Regions from separate parts of the Homo sapiens genome. Here regions 1 and 2 are each linked to region 3. The links are contacts of gene promoters, found by promoter capture Hi-C in human tissues and cell types (Jung and others, 2019). All regions are on one chromosome and are shown on one strand. The core of a region is centred on a gene start or on the middle of the fragment in contact, and the rest is flanking DNA. Distances in the headings are between cores, read along the strand shown. Region 1 overlaps CACNG5 (calcium voltage-gated channel auxiliary subunit gamma 5). Region 2 overlaps CACNG5 (calcium voltage-gated channel auxiliary subunit gamma 5). Region 3 holds the start of CACNG5 (calcium voltage-gated channel auxiliary subunit gamma 5).

The links. Contacts are between HindIII fragments. The study calls those that stand out against the background at their distance.
Region 1: a contact is called between a fragment that was not itself captured here and the fragment with the promoter of CACNG5 in region 3, in 5 of the 25 tissues and cell types used here (H1 embryonic stem cells, adrenal gland, dorsolateral prefrontal cortex and 2 more).
Region 2: a fragment that was not itself captured here is called in contact with the fragment with the promoter of CACNG5 in region 3 in 3 of the 25 tissues and cell types used here (aorta, lymphoblastoid cells and ovary).

What each region holds. Positions count from the first base shown.
Region 1 is chr17:66,873,706-66,876,893 of GRCh38, reverse strand. All of the region lies in intron 1 of CACNG5 (calcium voltage-gated channel auxiliary subunit gamma 5), which reads right to left. Among named protein-coding and RNA genes, the nearest start is that of CACNG5, 40 kb to the right of the region's middle. The HindIII fragment of the contact is 7,302 bases long and covers 1-3,188 here.
Region 2 is chr17:66,894,670-66,897,812 of GRCh38, reverse strand. It overlaps CACNG5 (calcium voltage-gated channel auxiliary subunit gamma 5), which reads right to left. Exons shown (of 6, transcript NM_145811.3): 6 at 3,062-3,143. It also overlaps the pseudogene RNA5SP446. Among named protein-coding and RNA genes, the nearest start is that of CACNG5, 61 kb to the right of the region's middle. The HindIII fragment of the contact is 8,798 bases long and covers 1-3,143 here.
Region 3 is chr17:66,833,417-66,836,682 of GRCh38, reverse strand. It overlaps CACNG5 (calcium voltage-gated channel auxiliary subunit gamma 5), which reads right to left and starts at 1,566. Exons shown (of 6, transcript NM_145811.3): 1 at 1,433-1,566. The HindIII fragment of the contact is 10,169 bases long and covers 1-3,266 here.

The DNA.
Region 1 (3,188 bases), core at 311-2,810, 40 kb before region 3:
AGGCACCCCCAAAGCAATTAAATGCGACCTATTGAGGGCTGTGGTAGAGACCTGTCCAGGAAGTAGAGAGGAAGAATGGAGGAGACAACTCTGCTGGGTGAGCTTCTCTGTGTTGAAAAGGATTCTGAGGCTCAAATAGTCTCTGTGAGAGATGCCAGCTCCAGACAGGAAAATGGCAGCAGCCTTGGGAAGGAGTAGAGAGGCAGGGAAGATTTCTTGGAGGAAAGTGTCCTCCTCATGTGACTCTAATAAGTTGCAGCACTTGGTCAACACAAGTAAAGAAGCCATACCACAGTCCAAGTGCAACAGCCTCCTAAATCCACCTAATCAGAAATGGGCTGACTCTTACCTGCTCAGCACGCTGTATCGGCAGGGGCCAGCAATGAACGAGAAAAAGAGAAGCTAAGTGTCTAAGCAAGGTCAACCACAAGCCCCACCTGCTGATATCTGCCAGGGTCAGGCACTGGACTTGGAGCTGGAAAACAGTGGAGAGCAAGGCAGATGGATGCCAGCCCCCGTGGAGCCCATAGCCAGTCTCAGGGCTTCTGTGCTCTGGCTGTAATCTAGAATCACCTAGGAAGTGTCTAAAAATCCCTGATACCCTGGTGCTGCTCCAAGAGATTCTGATACAATTGAGCTCAAGTGGGGCCTGGACAATGGTATTTTTTAAATTCTGCCAGGTGATTCTAATGTGTAGCCAAAGTTCAAAACAACTGATCTTCGCTACTCAAAGTATGGTCCATGGACCAGCCATGTAGGCATCACCATGCAGCTGGTTAGAAAAGTAGACTCTCTGGCCTCTCCAACATCCTAAATTGAAATCTGCATTTTAACAGGATCCCGGTGAGTTGTCTGCCTACTAAAATCTGAGAAGTGCTGTGCCAAGCAAACAGTTGATGGCATTGTAATGTAGCAACTGCTATGATGGGGAAAGCCCAGGATATGACAAGGGCCCAGAAGGGGTCATCCAGTGGGGCTGGAGGGGGCAGGCAGAGCCATCTCTAGAAGAGAATGAGGCCTGGGGCAACTCAGAAAGGTTGTGTCACCCAAGCCACCCTTGGCTGCAAGTTTGCTATCCTGTCGGCATCTTTCACTGGCACCTTGCAATATTGCAAAGTCAGAACTTTTGAAACTGGATGTTAGTGATGTTTGGGAAAGAGGTGCAGCAGTGCTTCGGTGCAGTCCACCAATATCAGGGCTCCAGTGGAGTCCTAGGGCCCTGCCCCAGGGATGGTATCATGTTCCAGTTGAGATTTGAGGCACAGGTGGGTATTGAGGCAGCTGAAAATGGACAGAAGCCAGATTTGTCTGCAGAGTCTGAGTTGACTGTAGGAGGAGAGTGGCAGAGTTTAGAGCCTCTTTGTGAGAAGGGGTTGAGGGGTGCACGCTGGCCCTGATTCCACAGCGCCGGCCCTGCTCTAGCAGTTGATCATGGGAAAGTTGATTGATCTACAGAGTGAGCCATATATTGGCTTCCTGGAGGCATGTGTGAGTCTATGTCCATGTTTGCAAGGCTGAAGAGCACAGGGCTTTAAGCCACAATGATCCTTCCTGTGTTGGCTTTGACAAAGGAGGGAGAAATGAAACACCAAACAGCCCTCTCCACCCAGCCAAATCATTCTCCATGCAACAGCGTGGGCAGAGGGGAGCAGGACAGTTTGTATCTAGCATGAGTATCTAGTAAAGCGCCTATAAGCCCTGTGCTTGCAGCTGAGGAAGAGGCAACAAAATCAGAGGTGCTGCCGCTTGCAGAGTTTGCGAGCTGGAAAAATGGGAAACCACAGCATCCCATTCTGACTGAAGGTGGGGTAGCATCATAACAGGCAGAACCCAGGTCCTGGGGAAGAGAAGCCAACTCCTAGCAGAGGTCCAGGGCAAGGCTGCTGCCGACTGGTGGGAAGTGCTAGTGACGTTGTACTGATAGTATTTTTATATTAATAGTAGTTAGCCAAACCCTGTCATTTACACTTGAAGCTCACAAAGTCCCAACATCTGCCAAAGGAAATGGAATTGAAACACCAAGGATGGTTAGCAGGAGTAAGGGGAGCAGTGGAGAACAAAGGGATATGGCTCCCAAAGGCGAACAGAGCCTTGAACTTACACTCAACCGTGCCACTAAAGATCCATGTAAGCTTGGGAAATTAACCTCTCTGCTATGGTTCGGATAAGGTGGTTTGTTTGCCCCCACCAAAGCTCATGTTGAAATTTGATCCTCAATGTGGTAGTGTTGGGAGGTGTGCCTAGCAGAAGGTGTCTGGGGTCATGGAATCCCTCAGGAATGGCTTGGTGCTGTTTTCATGGTGGTGAGTTCTCACCCTCGAAGACTGGATTAGTTTGAAGGAATGAATTAGTTCCCTTGAGACAGTTGTTATAAAGCCTCAGGTTTTCTCCGTTTCCTTCTTGCCCTTCTCTGCTCTGTCGTGATGCCCTATGAAAGCCCTCATCACAGGCCAGGGATATGGCCTTGAACGTCTCAGCCTGCAGAACCAAGAGCTAAATAAACCTCTTTTCTTTATAAATTATCCAGTCTCAGGTATTCTGTTATAGCAACACAGAACAAACTAAGACACTCTCTGAAGACTGATTTTCTCCTGGATAACATGGAGGAAGAGACTAATAATAAACACCAAAGTACATTGAACGTTTATCATTGTTAGGCATCCTGTTAAGCACCTTACTCCCCATTTTAATCCTGGCTATTCTATTACCACACCCATTTTACAGGTGAGCAAACTGATGATCAGTGAGGTTAAGAAGCTTGCACAAGAGCACTCAGCTGGCAAATGTTGGTGCCTGCATTTGAACCTTACCTTGCCCCACTCCCAAGCCCTTTTTCAAGGCTTGCGTTCTCAAACTCCCACCCCATGAGTTTATCCAAAGTGGGGTCCATGGAGCAATAATTCCATGGAATATTCTAGAAAAAGTGACTCTGGTTAAAAGGAAAAAAAAAAAAAAAACAGCTTGTGAGAAGCACTGCACCTAGCTCTTGAAGAACCGCATTGCACATTATGGTAAAGGCTTTGAAAAGCCTGCTTAGCTTTGCTTATTTCTGTATTTTCCAAACTTATTTGAGCAAAGAAAAAAAAAAGACATCATGTTCTGTGAAACCCACTTTGGGAACCACACTGCCTGCCAGGAAGAATAGGAAGACCTGCCTTGCTCACTCCACAAAATTGCTGGTGTGATTA
Region 2 (3,143 bases), core at 410-2,909, 61 kb before region 3:
CAGCTTGCTAATCTGTCCAATGGGAACAACAGCATTTCCTTCATCAGGTTGTAAATCGAGTTTCATACGTAAAGGGCCTGGCACTTAGGTGTTGAAGAAATCTTAGCTCCCATGATTTTATCATTTCCCAGGGAAACAAAGAGGTTCTGGGAGCTTGCTTGAGGCCCCTTTGCTCTGCAGCATCTTGCAGAGAAGGAAGGAGGAAGGACCACAGGAGCAGCGACAGCCCTGTGTTTGGGGGGGGAACAAAAACACCCTGAAAGTTCCAGATTGAGCTACTGTATGGGAATAATTATGGCTGCTATTTTGGTGCATTTGTTTAATAACGTTAATTTGCCGACAGCCTGATATTATAACATCCTCTCCCACACGGAGGTGGCTTGAGTTCTCTATTCACCAGAATCCATTTGCATTTCTTCTATGGGGTTTGGGGCTCAGGAGCTGGTGACTCACAGCTGGCGGGGGCCTCCAGGAAAGGCCCCTCTCCACGTGGGAGCAGAAGTGGGGGTGTTAGCTCCCGGCAACATCGCTCTGTGCCAAGGCAAACTTGAAACCCTCCCAGCCTCCCTGGGAATGGCCTCTAGCCTTGCCCTGGGCCTCTCCAAAACCTGGCAAAGAAGTGGCCATTCTCGAGACATTGAATCAGGGCAGACTTCTTAGAGGAGACGTCTCAATGTGGTTGTTTCATGGCCTTGAAGCAGAAGAAAAACACAGGAGCCAGAAAGGATAAGGACACAAATATTCACGACTTGGAGATTTGTGAAAAATGAAGATGAGAGTGACTTCTGAGGATGGGGGGCTGGCAGAATGTTACAGGTGGATGTTTTTGCTGGAAACGGTCTCCATGTCCATGCACTGGGGCCTGGGTGCATCTGTAGGGCAGTTGTGTGCAGCCACAGGGTGGAATGAGGACCAAAGTAGAGAAACTTGAGAGCAGTTGAAGGGCGGTTTCTCAGAACAGCAGTACTCCAGCTCATAATGAAGAAAGAATGGTGTTAGAACATCACCTCTGCGCAACCACTAACAGCGTAATGAACCTGGGCTGTGACTATTAATGACTGCTAACTTCCCGGAAGACAGATAGCCACGGCCGGGCGCGGTGGCTCATGCCTATAATCTCAGCACTTTGGGAGGCTGAGGCGGGAGGATCACTTGAGGTCAGGAGTTCGAGACCAGCCTGTCCAACATGGTGAAACCCTGTCTCTACTAAAAATACAAAAATTAGCTGGGTGTTGTGTGGCCATCTGTAATCCCAGCTACTTGGGAGGCTGAGGCAGGAGAATTGCTTGAACCCGGGAGGCGGAGTTTGCAGTGAGCCGAGATGGCGCCACCGCACTCCAGCCTGGATGACAGACCGAGACTCCGTCTCAAAAAAAAAAAAAAAAAAAGAGACAGCCAGATGGCCAGGTGTCACATGTCTCCTGAAGGAGTTTCACTGTCAACAAGTCAGACCTGCAACCAATCAAGCTTCTAGATCCGTCTACCAATTCACAGGAAATGCAATGGAGGGAAACATTCACCAACCCCAGGGTGATACAGTCAGAACATTCCGGGCTATGGGCCGACTGATAGTGGGTAAGGCTGAGAAACTCAAGGATGAAATGTAAGAGACCTGAAAGCAATTGTGAGGCCAGGATATTACATGGGTCTTGATAAACAGGAAAGCACCGACACATATGCATGTTTTAGATAATAACTAGGAAAATCGGCCAGGCTCAGTGGCTCACACCTGTAATCCCAGCACTTTGGGAGGCTGAGGCGGGTGGATCACGAGGTCAGGAGTTCAAGACCAGCCTGGCCAATATGGTGAAACCCTGTCTCTACTAAAAATACAAAAATTAGCCGGGTATGGTGGCGGGTGCCTGTAATCCCAGCTACTCGGGAGGCTGAGGCAGAGAATTGCTTGAACCCAGGAGGCGGAGGTTGCAGTGAGCCAAGATTGCGCCGCTGCACTCCAGCCTGGGCGACAGAGTGAGACTCCATCTAAAAATAATAATAATAATAATAAGGAAAATCTGAACATTGAACTGGACATTTGAGGACATCAAGAAACTATTGTTTTAAGTGTATTATTGGCATTGTGATTTTAAAAGAATCCTGATTTTTTGCCAATATGGCGGGAAATCATTGCAGAAGAAGTGATATGATGTTTGGGATTTGCTTCTAAAGAATCTGGGGTCAGACATGAGTTGGTCCTCGTGGAAGCTGAGTGATGGGTACCAGGGAGTTCGTTGTACCATCTTCTACCGGCCGGGTACTAACCAGGCCTGACCCTGCTTCACTTCTGAGATCAGGGGTTTTGAGGGTAGTGTGGCTGTAGGATTGCTGGAAATGTAGGGTGGAACCCACTACATTGACAAAAAGGAGAAAGCTAGGGAAGCCTAGGTAGCTCACAGCTGGAGACAGTTTTCCGCTCAGGGGACATTTGGAGATTTTGGTTGCCACAAGCAGAGGATACGAATGCTACTGGCATCCTGTGAGTAGGGGCTAGAGATGCTGCTGAACTTTCCTGCAATGCAAAGATCAGCACCCACAACAAAGAATGTTCTGGCTCAAAATGTCAATAGTGTTGAGACTGAGGAATTCTGGGCTGTTTTAGCGGGGATGGGGGACACGGGGAGTATGAACTGGAGCATCTTTGCTGAAGAACAATGAGAACGTGTTGGATTAAATTAAGTGCAAACATAGCCTGCGATGCATTACATCCACCCCCCGGTGTAGCCCCAAGAAATGGTTGCCAGATCTGTAAGGGGAGACGGACAGCTGTATTTTCAGCAGTGCTGTTTGGTGCGTGTGTTGTAGGGGAGTTGGAAGCAACCCTACCTAAGAGAAGTGCTGGGGGAATTGGTGTCAGATCCTAAACATGAGTCAAGTCAGACTCTGGCCTCCAAATCCCACTTTCCTGGTGTTAATTACTGAGATTTTCACTGGGGTTTAGGCAAAAAGTAAAGGCTGTGGAGTGCTTGGCAGCAGTTAGGAGCAATGAACTATATGTTCATGGAGGAAAGCAGAAGATTGTAAAAGCAGTGCTGGATGAAAAAGTGAGAAAGAGAGATGCATATATAATGCAGTACCCTTTATTTAAATTAAAATACACATGCCAGAAAACAATATACATTTAAGGAGCACATAGAAACAAAAAT
Region 3 (3,266 bases), core at 317-2,816:
CACAAGCACAGATTTCACCCTGTTAGGCACCCTGGGGACCTGGCCCTGAGATGAGGTGTCCCCCAGCTACCTCCAGGGGCTGCGTTAGCAGAGAAGTGAGGCAGATCTAGGGCTTCTCAGGCAGGCAGGAGACTTCGGCATGAGGGGCTGGCTACAGGGTCTGCAAAGAGGTGCCACCAACCTGCCACTGAGATGCCTGTGGTCCTGAGATACTCTGAATCCAGGACATCAGAGCCAATCAAGGTCCCACACCCACACCCAGGCAATCCTGGCTGTTAATTGATCAAGACTTCAGGTTTGTGGAAATGAGGGGAATGGGTGTGAGGTGGCTGGGAGGGGAAGCCCCATCTTGTGTTCCCCAGGATGGATGTGGAGCAGAAGCCAGCCTCGGTGACAGCTTGTATGTGACATCTGTCAAACTGAGACAGCTCCCACTTGGGGATCCTGTCCTGGGTCCTGCTCTAACCCAGTCACTGATAATCCAGTGCAAAGTGGGTGAATCCCTTCCTTTCTGGGAACAAGGGCTTCCTTAACCACCGGCGTGCCTGGCAGGTACCGGAGGCAGCCCCGGGGCAGCCCTGGAGAAGCTAGTCAGAATATGAGCTTCTTTCCTCCCCAGCCAGGCTCCCGGAATTATTTCTCAAATCATTTTCAGTCCTAGGAAGTGATAATTTGATTTCACTTTAACATTTTTAACGAGCTGCATCTTCATCAACTGCCAAATTAGGATGAGAGCAAAGATCGGGGAATCACAATGAGAGGTTTTGGAGTGATTGGGGAAATCCAAATTTGGGGTGTGCCTGGGTGGTTGACACCTCACGCCCAGCACCTGCGGTGGGGTCCCCATAGCACCACCCTGATCACCCCCGCGAGTCCATCTCTGCTCAGTGGCTCCTGGCAGGGACACCTCCTCCTATCAACCCTTCTCACAGGCGGGAGAAGGAAGCCCCGGGTCCCACGAGCTGGAGAAATGAGGCCACCCTGCAGGCTGTGATAAGCGGGGAGTTGGACCCGCATAGGCCGACAGCCCAGCTCAACAGGTGGTGGTGGGCTTATCCCTTCCTGCATTATCCGGATAATAATCTGCCAGCCCCATTCAAGTCCGTCGTGGAAAAGTCTGCCCTCAGCTTTGGCATGGGTAAATTGCCTAGAAGCGACTGCAAAGAGGGGGCGTCATCATCTCCCCCGATACATCCTTGGGACAGACAGATGGACAGACAGACACACGCACACGCGCATACACACGCCCGCGCTCCCCACCACACTGCCCCTTCCAGGGTGCGCGATCGCTAGGGCTCTCCAGCCCCTGCCCCTGGCTGGGCTGTCATGGGGGCGCAGCCCGGCGCCGCGGCCCAGCACCGGTGGGAGACCGTCCCCCAGGGACCCCCCCAGGATGGAAGAGGTGGTCTCTCCCGGTCTTCCCGGCTCTTACCTCGCTGGAGCGGCCGCGACCCCCGACCCTGGTCCAATGTCCCTCGCCGGCTGGGCGCGCGGGGCGGGAGGTACCGCGCTAGGCTGCCCGGGACGCCCGCCCCGTCCAGTCAGCCGGAACCGCTCGGCGCCAATGACCGTGGCCGCCGCCGCCGCAGCTCGCGCCCCGGACCCCGAGAGGGAGGGGCGGGCAGGGGGCGGGGCCGAGGGCGGGGCCTCCCCACCCCGGCGCTGCCAGCTGCAGGCGGGGTTTGGGACCGGTCAGATGCGGTCTCCCAGCCCGGGAGGTGAGCACCTCTGGGGTGAGCACCCTTGTGGGGGTGGCAGGTGAAGAGTTGGGGGCCGGCGTGGGAGAGGAGAGGCTTTCAGAGTCCGCATAGGGCTGGGAGACCCTGCCTGGAGTCAGACTCACCTTCAAATTCCAGCAGCTGGGGCTGCAGCCTCTGCCGTTGCTGCTGCTTTTAAATAAGGATGATGATGATGATGATGATGATGATGATGGTGATAGAACAACAATGCCAGCTAGTATTTATTGAGCACTTACTAGTGTAAGCGTTCAATGAGCTTCACATGTATTAAGTCATTTAATTCTCACACGAATCCCATTTTACAGATGAGAAGACTGAGGCACAGGGCGCTTAAGTGAGGAGTCTGAGGACACACAGCTGGAAAATGGCAGAGCCAGGACTGCAGCTCAGGCCTGTCTAAGTGCAGAATCTGAGCCTTTAAAGCCCCACTCTGCTTTTGTACTGTGTGGCCTTAAGCAAAGTGTTTGTCCCTCTTAACAGTAAAATGGTAATATATGTCCAATAAATGGTGGCAACTAACAATAAAACATTTCTTCCTTTCTTAGGTTCTATGTCTCCTTTAGTCTCTGGGTCCTGGACACCCAATAGGTGCTCAATAGATGTTTGTTAATCTATGACTAATTTGAAAGTGGCAGCTGGAGCCAGTGTGGTCAGCCAGGTTGGAAGGGGAACCCAAGGGCTAACTCTTCCTGGCCTGCATAGCCACATATCTTTTATTGCTTTGAAATGGCAGCCTGACCGATATCTTTGTCCGGCACACTTGTGCAGATGCTCACAGACCAGCAGCTTCCCCTCAAAGGCCTGTAAAATCCCTGCAGACCAAGAGGGGGTCAAAGATGTGGCATGTGGAAATATTTGGGGGCAAAGTTGGTTGCTAAATAATGAGACATCAGCAGTGAACATATTAGTTTAAAACTGTAGGGCAGAAACTTTTATAGAAGCATCTATGTTGCTGAGGTCTCCTGACATGGGAGGACTTTGTCACATGTGAATGGGGCCAGGTGGAGTTGGGACAACTGAAGGTTTTTGGAAAGGATACACCACGTGTCTATTCACAGCATTTTAGGCCTATGCAGTTTTCCGCTTTTTCTCCCTTTTCCCACCTACCCCAAGAGTGTTCTTCTCTATCCCCCAGAATACCCTGATGGAAATCCAAGAATGGATTTCTTCTTCTTCGTCTCTGGGCCCAGGAGCCTCTTGCACAGCTCTCACCAGTATGGCAATGATGAATTTACTGTCAATCTCCCTAACTATGCTGGGAGCCCCTTAAAAGGAGAAAGTCTGACGCATAGTAGGCACATTGTATTTGCTGAATGAATGACTGGAAGTTGGACACATCTCCCCAAGACTAAAGCTGTCAAGGAGAAAACCACCAAAGAAAACCTCAGAGGTGGCTGGATCAATGAAATGAAAAGATGAAAACGGGCAAAGCACCCAGGAGATGTGCCTTTTGCAAAGTCTGCAGGTCATTTTCCCAGCAAAGGCCAGAGAGGCTGGCCTGGGATCCATGCCCTGTGGGTCACCTCT